Regions from separate parts of the Homo sapiens genome. Here regions 2 and 3 are each linked to region 1. Evidence: promoter capture Hi-C in 16 types of primary human blood cells and fetal thymus (Javierre and others, 2016). All regions are on one chromosome and are shown on one strand. The core of a region is centred on a gene start or on the middle of the fragment in contact, and the rest is flanking DNA. Distances in the headings are between cores, read along the strand shown. Region 1 holds the start of MFN2 (mitofusin 2). Region 2 overlaps MTOR (mechanistic target of rapamycin kinase). Region 3 overlaps UBIAD1 (UbiA prenyltransferase domain containing 1).

The links. Contacts are between HindIII fragments. The CHiCAGO score rates a contact against its expected background, and 5 or more counts as called.
Region 2: a fragment that was not itself captured here is called in contact with the fragment with the promoter of MFN2 in region 1 in 1 of 17 cell types (total B cells); the score reaches 5.4 in total B cells.
Region 3: a contact is called between a fragment that was not itself captured here and the fragment with the promoter of MFN2 in region 1, in 2 of 17 cell types (naive B cells and monocytes). The highest score is 5.5, in naive B cells.

Annotation. Positions count from the first base shown.
Region 1 is chr1:11,978,673-11,982,442 of GRCh38, reverse strand. MFN2 (mitofusin 2) reads right to left here and starts at 1,999. Exons shown (of 19, transcript NM_014874.4): 1 at 1,959-1,999; 2 at 329-473. RefSeq lists an enhancer at 158-257 and silencers at 1,714-1,953, 2,124-2,383. The HindIII fragment of the contact is 7,841 bases long and covers 587-3,770 here.
Region 2 is chr1:11,221,369-11,225,138 of GRCh38, reverse strand. All of the region lies in intron 19 of MTOR (mechanistic target of rapamycin kinase), which reads left to right. Among named protein-coding and RNA genes, the nearest start is that of ANGPTL7, 34 kb to the right of the region's middle. The HindIII fragment of the contact is 4,597 bases long and covers 1-3,770 here.
Region 3 is chr1:11,278,952-11,282,721 of GRCh38, reverse strand. The region is part of intron 1 of UBIAD1 (UbiA prenyltransferase domain containing 1); the gene reads right to left. It also overlaps the pseudogene UBE2V2P3. Among named protein-coding and RNA genes, the nearest start is that of UBIAD1, 7.6 kb to the right of the region's middle. The HindIII fragment of the contact is 1,166 bases long and covers 1,031-2,196 here.

The DNA of each region.
Region 1 (3,770 bases), core at 750-3,249:
AGTGACAAGGAGCCAACCTGTGCTGGGCCGAGATGGGGAAGAGCCAGCACAGCAGAGACCAAATGAGGGAGACAGAGACTAACTCTTCAGGGAGCCCAAGAGATCCCAGCCACTTCTGAACTGTCAACTTTTAAACAGGCTCTCTAAGCAACCAGCGAAATCCTTCACGGAAGTAAAAGATACGGTAGTTTTTCAACACAAGTTAGAAAGCTGTGGCTCTATACAAAGAGGATGCCATTCAAGAGACTTGCCACCAGAGGTCCAGGAGAGCACACCCCTGTCCACTCAGCTCAAATCCAGGGTGCCAGAAGTCACAGCTACTACTTACTTTTTTGGATGGTGAGAGATCTTCACAGGGTAGGCATCATGGACATGGCTGAAGTCCAAAAGACAAAAAGATTCTGAGTTCTCTTCTGTCCTGTCTCAGGTTGAGGTTGGCTATTGATTGACTGTGTTGACTCCACCAGTCCTGACTTATTAGAAAAGAAAAGGGAGATGGATCCGGTGTCCAAAAAAAAAAAACACTGGTGTACAAAACATGTCTAATCAGGTTTCAAGCCAAACAAACTCATCCCTGAGGGAAGCTTACTCATTGAGGTATTGGGGAGTTGCGCTGGCATGTGAGGAAGTGCCCTGGGGAAAAAAACGCAGAGGTGTGGGACCAATCCTGACTGTGCACACGTATTCCGCCATGTGCGGGTTTGAGGCACCACGGAGGTCCCTGCAGGAGCCCTGGGAAAGGTACATCCAGAGAGGGGAGAAGAGGACAGAGCAAAACTAGGAACAAAACTGGGCTTGAGGACTGTGGAACAGCTGACTATTGAGGAACAGAAGAACTGACTGAAAGCCAATGTGTTCAGCTACTGTAAAGTATCTCACTTAATTCTCTATTCTGTGGGACAGAGGGCTGGAATACTTGAAGATTTGTCTAAGCTGGGATCTGAAATATTAGCTCCCTTTGACTCCAAAGCTCCTGGAGTGCAGCAGCGCGATCTCGGCTCAACCTCCGCCTCCCGGGTTCAAGCGATTCTCCTGCCTCAGCCTCCTGAGTAGATGGGATTACAGGCGTGTGCCAGCAAGCCCGGCTAGTTTTTGGTTTTAGCACAGACGGGGTTTCACCATGTTGGCCAGGCTGGTCTCCAACTCCTGACCTCAGGTGATCCGCCCGCCTCAGCCTCCCAAAGTGCTGGGATTACAGGTGTGATCCACTGCGACCGGCCTCCTTCCTTTTTTAACTACATTGAGCTGCCTTCCTCCCCCAAGCCCCAAACCTTGGGACACCAGAGGCGGATAACCAGAGCCCTTTTCTGGGTAGAAAAGAGATAACCAGAGCCCTTTTCTGGGTAGAAGAGAGAGAGATGATTGAGAATTTAAAGAGGGCAATGAAGGATTACGAGAGGGGGTAACGGGCAGTTCTGCCTTCGTGCGTCTTAACAGCTATTTATTCAACATTTTCTGTGTGCCTTCTCTGTGTGTGTCAGGCGCCACGTTAGAAATGGATAAGAAACAGTCCTGCCCTCCAGGGCCTTACAGTCCGGTGAGAAGTCATATAAGTAAACAGGGCTGAACGAGAAGGCAGTAACTGCCCAAAGTGGGGATGGCAGGGCGCTCCCGCGGTGAACGTGGACACCTATCAGGTGCTGAGTAAATGCTGGCAAAATGAAGACAGGATGAAAAATAGAGAAGGGGCAGGGGTAGAACATGGCCGTGAAGGGTGGAAAGGCGGGGGCGATGAGAAGCTACAGGGGACCCCACCGACCAGTCCCAGGTCCCGTGGCCCGCCCCCTCCTCTCAGGGCCGGGGAGGGCCCGGCGGCGAGGCCGGAGAGTGGGGACCCCGCTTGACTGCATCCCAGACCCCCGTGGCCCCAGAATCCCGTCGGCCCACGCCGAGCTGCTCAGGACTCGCCGGGCCGGGCCGGGCCAGTCCCCGCCACCCCGGCTTGCTCGCCCTCTCACCTTCACCTTCCCGGCCTCGCGGCGGCCATCACACTCACTACGTCACCAGCGAGCGCCACCCCAGGGGGAGGCGGGAGGAGGGAAGTGGATAAGCGCGTCACCAGTCGCCTCAGATTGCCCCTCGACCCGGGTGAGCTGGTGGACCCTGAGCCCAGCCGGCTCGCCCCGCCTACTCCTTACGCCTCTGCTGCCCCGCGACTCGGCGCTTCGAGCGGCGTCTCAGCGCGCCACTCCTCCGCGCGCCACTCCTCCGCCGGCGCGTCCCAAGCGGACGACGCAGAGGCTCGGACTCCCACTGCATCATGGGGGCTGTAGTTCCGGTGGGCGTCGGCCGGAGCTGGGGGGGCGGGGCAAAGCGGGGCGGAGCCTCAAGCTGTCAAGGGGCGAAAAACCAAGGGCGTGGAGTAGAGGTTCCCGCTTTTTCGCCGGTTGTCCTAGAGCCTGACCCTGGGGCCTCTGCCAGCTCTGGAATCCAGATTTGCATTCTGTAATCTTAGAGGAGTGTTCTCTAGAGGGCCAGGCCTAGGGTGAAGTGACTCATCGGGCAGACAGAAGCGAGCATGGGCCTGCTGCCCTTCAGTCGCCTTTGAGGAAAGAAGAGCAGCAACAACGGCGAATCAATGCCAGTGACTGAACTGCGTCTCTAACATCCACCGCTGTATTTAACGTCCACAGCAGTCCCAGGAGAGGGAGAGGAGAGGTTACCCAAGCTCACATGGTTACCCAGATCACCGGGCCCCAGTGATGCGGCAGACACTACTAGGAAACCGCAGCAAACAGATCCCTTGCAGGACTTGGCCTCCGCAGAGAAGGCTCCAAGCCTGAGCGCGCCAGAACAGTAGGCACTAGCCACGTGTGGCTCTCGAGTCCTGAGCCAGTGCAAACGGAGATGCGCTATAAGACTTAGGACAAAAAAGGCTGTTAAACTATCTCAATTTTTAGGAAAAAAAAATATCGACCGGGCGCGGTGGCTCAAGCCTGTAATTCCAGCATTTTAGGAGGGCGAGGCGGGTGCATCGGGAGTTCAAGACCAGCCTGGCCAACATGGTGAAACCCCGTCTGTACTAAAAATACAAAAATTAGCCAGGCATGATAGTGCACTCGGGAGGAAGAGGCAGGAGAATCGCTTGAACACGGGCGGTGGAGGTTGCAGTGAGCCGAGATCATGCCACTGCACTCCAGCCTGGGCAACAGAGACTCCGTCTCAAAAAAGAAAAAAAAAATCTATCTTTGAGCCAGAGTCTCACTCTCACTCAAGCTGGAGTGCAGTGGTGCAATCACGGCTCACTGCAGCCTCGAACTCCTGGGCTCAAGTAATCCTCCCACCTCACTCAGCCTCCCAAGTAGCTGACCACAGATGCTGCAGCCATGCCTAGTATTTATCTTTTGTAGACATGGGGAAGCATTTCACTTTGTTACCCAGGCTGGTGTCCTGAACTCCTGGACTCCTGGAGTCAAGCAATCTTCTCCTGCCTCGGCTTCCCAAAATGCCGGGTTACAGGTACCTGCCACAGTGCAGGGCTATTAGCCCATTACTATTTATATGCTGACTACATGTTGAAGTGATAATATTTTGGGTCATTTGGGTTAAATACATTACTAAGATTAATTGCACCTGTTTCTTTTTAAAAATGTCGCTACTAGAAAATTTAAAATTACATAAGTAGCTTGCATTTGTGGGTCAAACTGTAATTCTGTGGGATGGTGCTGCTCTATAACCATGGTAGAACAACCTCAATTTATTGCCACAAACAACCTCAAGAGGCAAATCAGTACTCTGATATAGAAGTGACTGGTTTATCAGTCTCATGA
Region 2 (3,770 bases), core at 932-3,431, 760 kb after region 1:
TATGCAGTTATCACTAATAATCTAATTTTAGAAAACTTAAATCACCCCAGCAAAAAAACCTCCTGTCCATTTTCAGTCATTTTCTGTTTCTGCCTCATCCCTGGGCAACTACTAATCTGCTTCTCTCTCTATAGATTTACTTTTTCTGGGCATTTCATGTAATTGGTGTCATAGAATATGTGGTCTTTTGCATCTGGCTTCTTTCACTTAAAACTTTTGAGGTTCATCCATGTGTGGCATGTATCAGTAATTCATTCTTCCTTTATTACTCAGTAGTGATGTAGTATTTTCATTATTGTCCAGAAATATTTTCCAGTGTTAGAATTTCTTCTTTTACCCTTGAGTTATTTAGAAGTGGGTATTTTATTTGTAAACTTAAAGGGTTTTTAATTTCTCTTTTTTATATTGATTTCTAACTTAATTGCATTGTGTTTATGATTCTTTCATGCTTGCTGGAACTGCTTTAATGGTCTAGTGGTTGATTGATTTTCATAAATATTTCCTATATCCTTGGGAATACTTGTGTATTTGCTAACGTTATGGACAGGGTTTTACATAAGTCATTAGATTGAATTTATTACTTATTGTGTTCAAATCTTTTGTGTCCTTCTAATTTTTGTTTGTTTGATCTATCAATACTGAGAGAAGTGAGACAAAAATCTCCCTTTACATTGGTGGGCTTTTTTCTGATAGTTTAGTCAATCTTGTTTTATGTATCTTTGAGATTATATTACTAGATGCATGCAAATTTTAAATCCTGATATCTTCCTGGTAAGTTGACTCTTTTATCATTATGCAATAATCCTTCTTATCTTTAATAATACCTTAAAACGTATTTTACGTAACATTAATATAGCTGTACCAGCTTTTTTTTGGAGGTATATGTCTTTTCCAATTCTTTTACTTTTAACTGTCTTGTGACTTTTTGTTTTGGATGCTGTCTTGTAAATATAGCTAGATTATCTTTTTAATCCAATTTAAAAATGTTTGTCTTTTAACCAGTGCATTCTAGGCCAATTGCATTTATTGTGATTGCTGTTATATTTGGCCTATTTATTTTATTTTATTTTATTTTATTTTATTTTATTTTATTTTATTTTGAGACGGAGTATCGCTCTTGTTGCCAGGGTGGAGTGCAATGGTGTGATCTCGGCTCACTGCAACCTCTGCCTCTTGGGTTCAAGTGATTCTCCTGCCTCACCCTCCCAGGTAGCTGGGATTATAGGTGCATGCTACCATGCCCAGCTAATTTTGTATTTTTAGTAGAGATAGGATTTCACCATATTGGCCAGGCTGGTCTCAAACTCCTGACCACAAGTGATCCACCCGTCTCGGCCTCCCAAAGTGCTGGGATTACAGGTGTGAACCACTGCACCTGGCCATGTTTGCGTTTATTTCCACCATCTTACTTAGTGCATTCTTTTTGTCCTGCTTTGTCTGTTTATCTTTCTTTTTTGTCTTTTTCTGGATTTGTTTGAGCCTTTATTTTTTATTTCATCTTTTGCCTTCACTCATTGGCCACCTTTAATTTTTCTTAACATTTTGTAATAGACTATTTCAATCATGAATATAGTAGACAACCTATTATATTAGATTCTCACATACCCATCAGTAATTACTAGCATTTTGTCAATTTGGTTTTATCTCTTACCTCCATCGCCTTTCCCCCCGACACATGTACATACATTTCTGCAGTATTTTAAAGCAAATTACAGGTATCATATTATTTCACCAATACATACTTTTTCCCATGTAACCACAAATATGACACCTACAAAGCTAACAATCATTTCTTAGTATTATTTAATACCAACCCTTCTTCAGATGTCCCTGATTGTCTTAAAAATTCATTGTAATTTGGTTTATTCAAATAAAAATCTATATAAGGTCTACATCTGGCATTTGGTTGATGTATATAATTCTTTCACTACTTATTTACCTTTTCCCTCTACTTAAAAAAAAAAAAAAAGTCATGTATTTGTAGAAGAAACCAGGTCATTTGTCCTGTTTCTCATACTGGATTTGGCTGATTGTATCTTCGAAGTGTCTTAATTTCCTATAAACTAGTTAGATTTAGAGGCTTGATTAGATTCAGGTTCTGTTCTTTTGACAAGAGATACTTCATAGATTACAGTACTGTATACCTCCTATTTCAACATTTAGTAAACAGATATTTTCCATATGACCCACTGCTAGTGATGTAAAGGCTGATCAGTGGGTTCGGATATTGTCATCTGATCCATCTGTTATAAAGTTCCCTATCAGCCTTTTTCCCAGTCATTTTAGCATTCATTGGTAGTTATTTCCTAGAGCTGTTATTTGATTAGGGACTGCAAAATGGTGATTTTCTTACTTATATATATATTTTTTTTATTAAAAAAAATGTTTTTTTCCATGACATATCTCTCAGGAGCTCCTGAGAACATGTGCCCCAAAATGGTGATTTTCTAATTTGATTATTCCTTCTGGATTTATTAGCTAGAAAGTTCTTTAGAAATAAAGAACTTGGCTGGGCATGGTGGCTGTAATATCAGCACTTTGGGAGGCTGAGTTGAGAGGATTGCTTGAGCCCAGGAGGAGTGTAAGACCAACCTGGGCAGCATAGCAAAACCCCATCTCATTTTATTTAAAACATTTTTTTAGGCTGGGCGCAGTGGCCCACGCCTGTAATCCCAGCACTTTGGGAGGCCGAGGCGGGTGGATCACAAGGTCAGGAGATCAAGACCATCCTGGCTAACACGATGAAACCCTGTCTCTACTAAAAATACAAAAAAATTAGCCAGGCATGGTGGCAGGCACCTGTAGTCCCAGCTACGTGGGAGGCTGAGACAGGAGAATGGCATGAACCCGGGAGGTAGAGCTTGCAGTGAGCCGAGATTGGGCCACTGCACTCCAGCCTGGGTGACAGAGCGAGACTCCGTCTCAAAAAAAAAAAAAATTTTTTTTAAATAAATTTTAAAAAAGAACTTTATATAATCAACTACTGAGGTAATTTGAAGTGTAGATCATGTAGGAAAAGCAGAATACATGCATGAATCTTTCCCTTTATTTATCAATTTATCAATTTTTTAGTATAATGAGTCAAGCCTCTAACAGCTTTTCAGAGGTGAGCCAGGCACCTTCCCACCTCCCAATCCTACCCTCATTCTTTGGAGTATCAGTATGAACTCATGAAGATACATATATATATATAATTTATCTTTATTTATACTGTAAACCAAGTTGGTTGCACAGTCACTCAAAGAAGACTGTCAAGTGAAAGTCATTTAGTCATCTTATTGTTAATACTAATATTGGTCATTTACTTTACTACTTGTGTGTTTAAGAAAGATACATATATATATGTAATCTCACTAAAAGAAACAGAGCTCTCTATATAGAGTATTTCTATATATATAGAATATATATATGTATATATACACTATATATATATGTATATATAATATTTCTGTTCATTGCAGGCACCAATCTTTTTCACAATCAGATTGTCCTGATCACCCTGGCTGTTGTGTCCTTTTTACATGGCCCGGTAGACTTTCTTGCTTTCTGGCGGAAAAAAATTACTCCAAGCGTATCAAGTATATTTCACTCAAACCTGGGCATAGCCATTTCCAAGGAGCTCTGATTTCTTTTAGTGAGATTACATACATATATATATATTTTATAGATGTAAATAGAAAATGACCAATGTTAGTATTAACAATAAGATGACTAAATGTAGTTTAAGACTTTCAGTTGATATTCTTCTTGAGTGATTGTGCAGCCAACTT
Region 3 (3,770 bases), core at 364-2,863, 700 kb after region 1:
GCATGGTGGTGCACGCCTGTAATCCCAGCTACTCGGGAGGCTGAGGCAGGAGAATCGCTTGAACCAGGAGGCAGAGGTTGCAGTGAGCAGAGGTCGCACCATTGTACTCCAGCCTGGTCAACAAGAGCTAAACTCTGTCTTTTGAAAAAAAAAAAAAAAAAAAGTGATGTAAGCAAGGTTGAGCAGAGATCTCTGTCCCCACCCCAAAACCAAGAGCAACCCACTCTGGGGAGGAAAAAGATCTGGTTATCTGACACAAGAAAACAGTAGAGCCCTTGGGGAGAAAGCTGTTTCCTAGCATTTGATACATGGCCCAAGGCTTCATGTGCTCTACCTGATTCAGAGACGTGGCCCATCTGGGAATTTCCTTTTAGGCATTCCTCCTCTCCCAACCCCATTTTCTGAATGAGCTTACACAGTGAAATACTGGGCCGGTTCTCCACACGGCAGCCAGAATGAATCTGTTAAGACTTAAGTCAAAAAGTTGGCAAGACGCAGAGCAACTGGAACACTTGCTGGGGGGAGTGTAAAGAAGTACAACCACTTCAGAAAACAGTTTGGCAGTTTCTCATAAAATTAAACATCATCTGCCCTGTGACCCAGCAATTCTACTCCTGGGCATTTACCCAAGAAAAATGAAAACAAATATCCACAAAAAGACTTGAACATGAATGTTCAGACGTAATAGCCAAAATATGGAAGCAATCCAAATGTCCCTGAAAAGGAGAATGGATAAAAAGAAGTTGTGGTATGTTACAATGGAATGCTAGTCAGCAAAAAAAGGAACTACTGATACACGCAATAAAACAATGAATCTCAAAAACATCACGCTGAGCAAAAGAAGCCAGACGAGAGCTCAGACTGAAATAAATACACATACATACATACATACATAGTTCATAGTGAAAGGTTCCATTTATATGACAGGCAAAACTAATCTCTGTGAGAGGAATCAGAACAGTGGTTCTTTTCCTGTCTCTGGATGGGGGCAGGGAGTGTGGGATTGACAGGCAAGAAGCACTGGGAAGCTTTTGGGGGTGATGGAAGTGTTCTGGATGATGACGGGGTGTGGGTTATGCAACTGTATACATTTATCAAAATTCATCAAGCTGCAACACTAAAAACCTGTGCATTTCACTGTGTGTCAATTATATGTCAATAAAAGACAATGTTTAAAAAATCTTAAACCAGATTATGTCACTACTCTGCTCAGTATATTTCAATGCCTTCCCATTTGTTCACTGGATATTTACTAAGTAATATTACATGCCAGGCAGTGCTCTGGGTGCTAGGGGTTCAGCTAATACCAGAGACAGAAATCCCTGACTGCAGGGAGGGAGCTCGCAGTCGAAGGGGGAAGATAATTAACCAATTAAGTACTTTATATGGCACATTAGAAGGTAACATGTGCTATGAGGAAAACTAATGCAGAGAAGAGCAGCAGGGGAAGTATCAGGTGGGGGCACGGAGTGGGTGTGTAATTTTAAGCAAGGTAGAAAGCAAGGCCTCACTGAGCAGCTGACATTTGGGCAAATAGGTGAAGGAAGTGAGAAAGTGAACCACATGGTTAGAAGCAGGAAAAGCATTTCAAACAGAGGAAGCTGCATCTACAAAGGACCTGAGGGAGGGGCAGGAGGGGTTGTGCATGCTCCTGGACTAGAAAGGGCAGTGTGGCTGGCCCAGGATGAGCAGGAAGAAAGGAGGAGGGTGGGTCAGAGAACTGGGGGGAGGGCAAAAGGTGGGCAAAGAATGTAGGGCCCTAGGGAGTCACTGTAAAGACCCTGGCCTTTACTCTGAGCAAGATGGGAGCCACTGAAGAGTTCTAAGCAGGACTGACAGGGCTGCCCTATATTTTAACAGAATTACTCTGGTGGCTGAGTGGGAACAGCCTGAATGGGACCAGAACAGAGGTAAAGAGACCAGTTGGGAGCCTGCCGCAAAAATCCAGGGACAGATGATCACAGTGGTGGCTGGACACGGTAAGAAGTGGTCAGATCCTACATGCATTTTGAAAGGAGAGTCAACAGAATTTGCTGATGAACTGGATGTGAGACGTGGGAGTCAAGGACGATGCCCACAGCTTTTGGCCTGAAGAACTAGGATGAAGCTGCCATTGAGCAAAATGGGGAAAAAGCTGTGGGCGAAGCAGGTTTCCTTGGGGAGAAGATCAGAATTTGGTCTCAGACATGTTAAGCTTGAGATGTTTATGAGACAGTTCTAGGAGAAGTTGCTGAGCAAGAAGTTGGATATGAGTCTGGAGTTTAAGAGTCACTAGCTTAACAGATGGCATCTGAAGCCATGAGCTACATCACCAAGGGAGTACATGGAGATAGAGAAAAGAGGCCCAAGGACTGAGCCCTGGAGGTTGGGGAGTAGGACTGGTTAAGATCGCCATGACAGAGACCCTGCCTAACTCACCAACTGTGTCTCATGCCCCCTCTGGCTCACACAGACCTTTCAGTAGATCCTAGCCAATGTCACACTCTCTCTCACCCACCACATTTGCACTTAGTGGTCCTTCAGCCCTGGAGGACTCAGCATCACAATCAGACTCCAATTCCACCCCGTGGCCAGCTCCTTATCCTTCCGTCTTCAAGTCCTAGTTTGAACGTCACTTTCACAAAGACAGCCTCTTCCCTTCACCACCACCTTGTACTTTCTATTACACCACCTCATTGATTTCCTTCACTGAACTTTTTATAATTAGCTGCCAGGCCACCACAGCCTTTTGATTTTCCTCTTACTCCTCTGGATGCTTGCTCACATCCCCTTTACCTGTGCCTTTTCTTCCCCCACCTCTAATGTGGGAGTGTCCCAGGGCTCAGACCAGGACTGACTTTTCTACCAACACTCCCTCCCCCTTGATGACCTCACCCAGTCCTACAACTTTATCTATAGACCAATGACTCCCAGATATGTAATCTCTAGCCCAGGCTTCTCTGAACTTGAACTACCCATTTGACATCTTTGTTAGGAGATTTAATAGACATTAAGATGTCCAAAGTTGGCCAGGCGCAGTGGCTCATGCCTGTAATCCCAGCACTTTGGTAGGCCAAGGTGGGTGGATCACCTGAGGTCAGGAGTTTGAGACCAGTCTGGACAACATGGTGAAACACCGTCTCTGCTAAAAATACAAAATTAGCCAGGCATGGTGGCAGACGCCTGTAATCCCAGCTACTTGGGAGGCTGAGAATCACTTGAACCCGGGAGGCAGAGGCTGCAGTGAGCCGAGATCATGCCACTGCACTCCAGCCTGGGAGACGGAGTGAGACTCTGTCTCAAAACAAACAAAAAACAAAACAAAAAACCACGAAGTCAATTGCTTGCTTTTCCCCCAAAACTTGTTCTATCCCCAGCCTTGCCCTTCTCACATGATGACATCACTCCAGATGGTATCTTCCAGTTCTCAGGTCAAAACCTTTGAGTTATGCTTATGCAGCTATTGATAGGCAATGGTATGATTAACTGGGGCCTTAAAGATGATGAAGATATGACATTTACAAGGTGGACAGGCATGATTATTGGGCCACCAAGGACAAATTATGAAAAGAGAATATAGGCCGGGCATGGCAGTTCACACCTATAATCCCAGAACTTTGGGAGGCCAAGGAGGGCAGATCACGAGGTCAGGAGTTTGAGACTAGTCTGCCCAACATAGTGAAACCTCATCTCTACTAAAAATACAAAAAATTAGCTGGGTGTGGTGGTGTGCACCTGTAATCCCAGCTACTCGGGAAGCTGAGGCAGGAGAATCACATGAACCTAGGAAG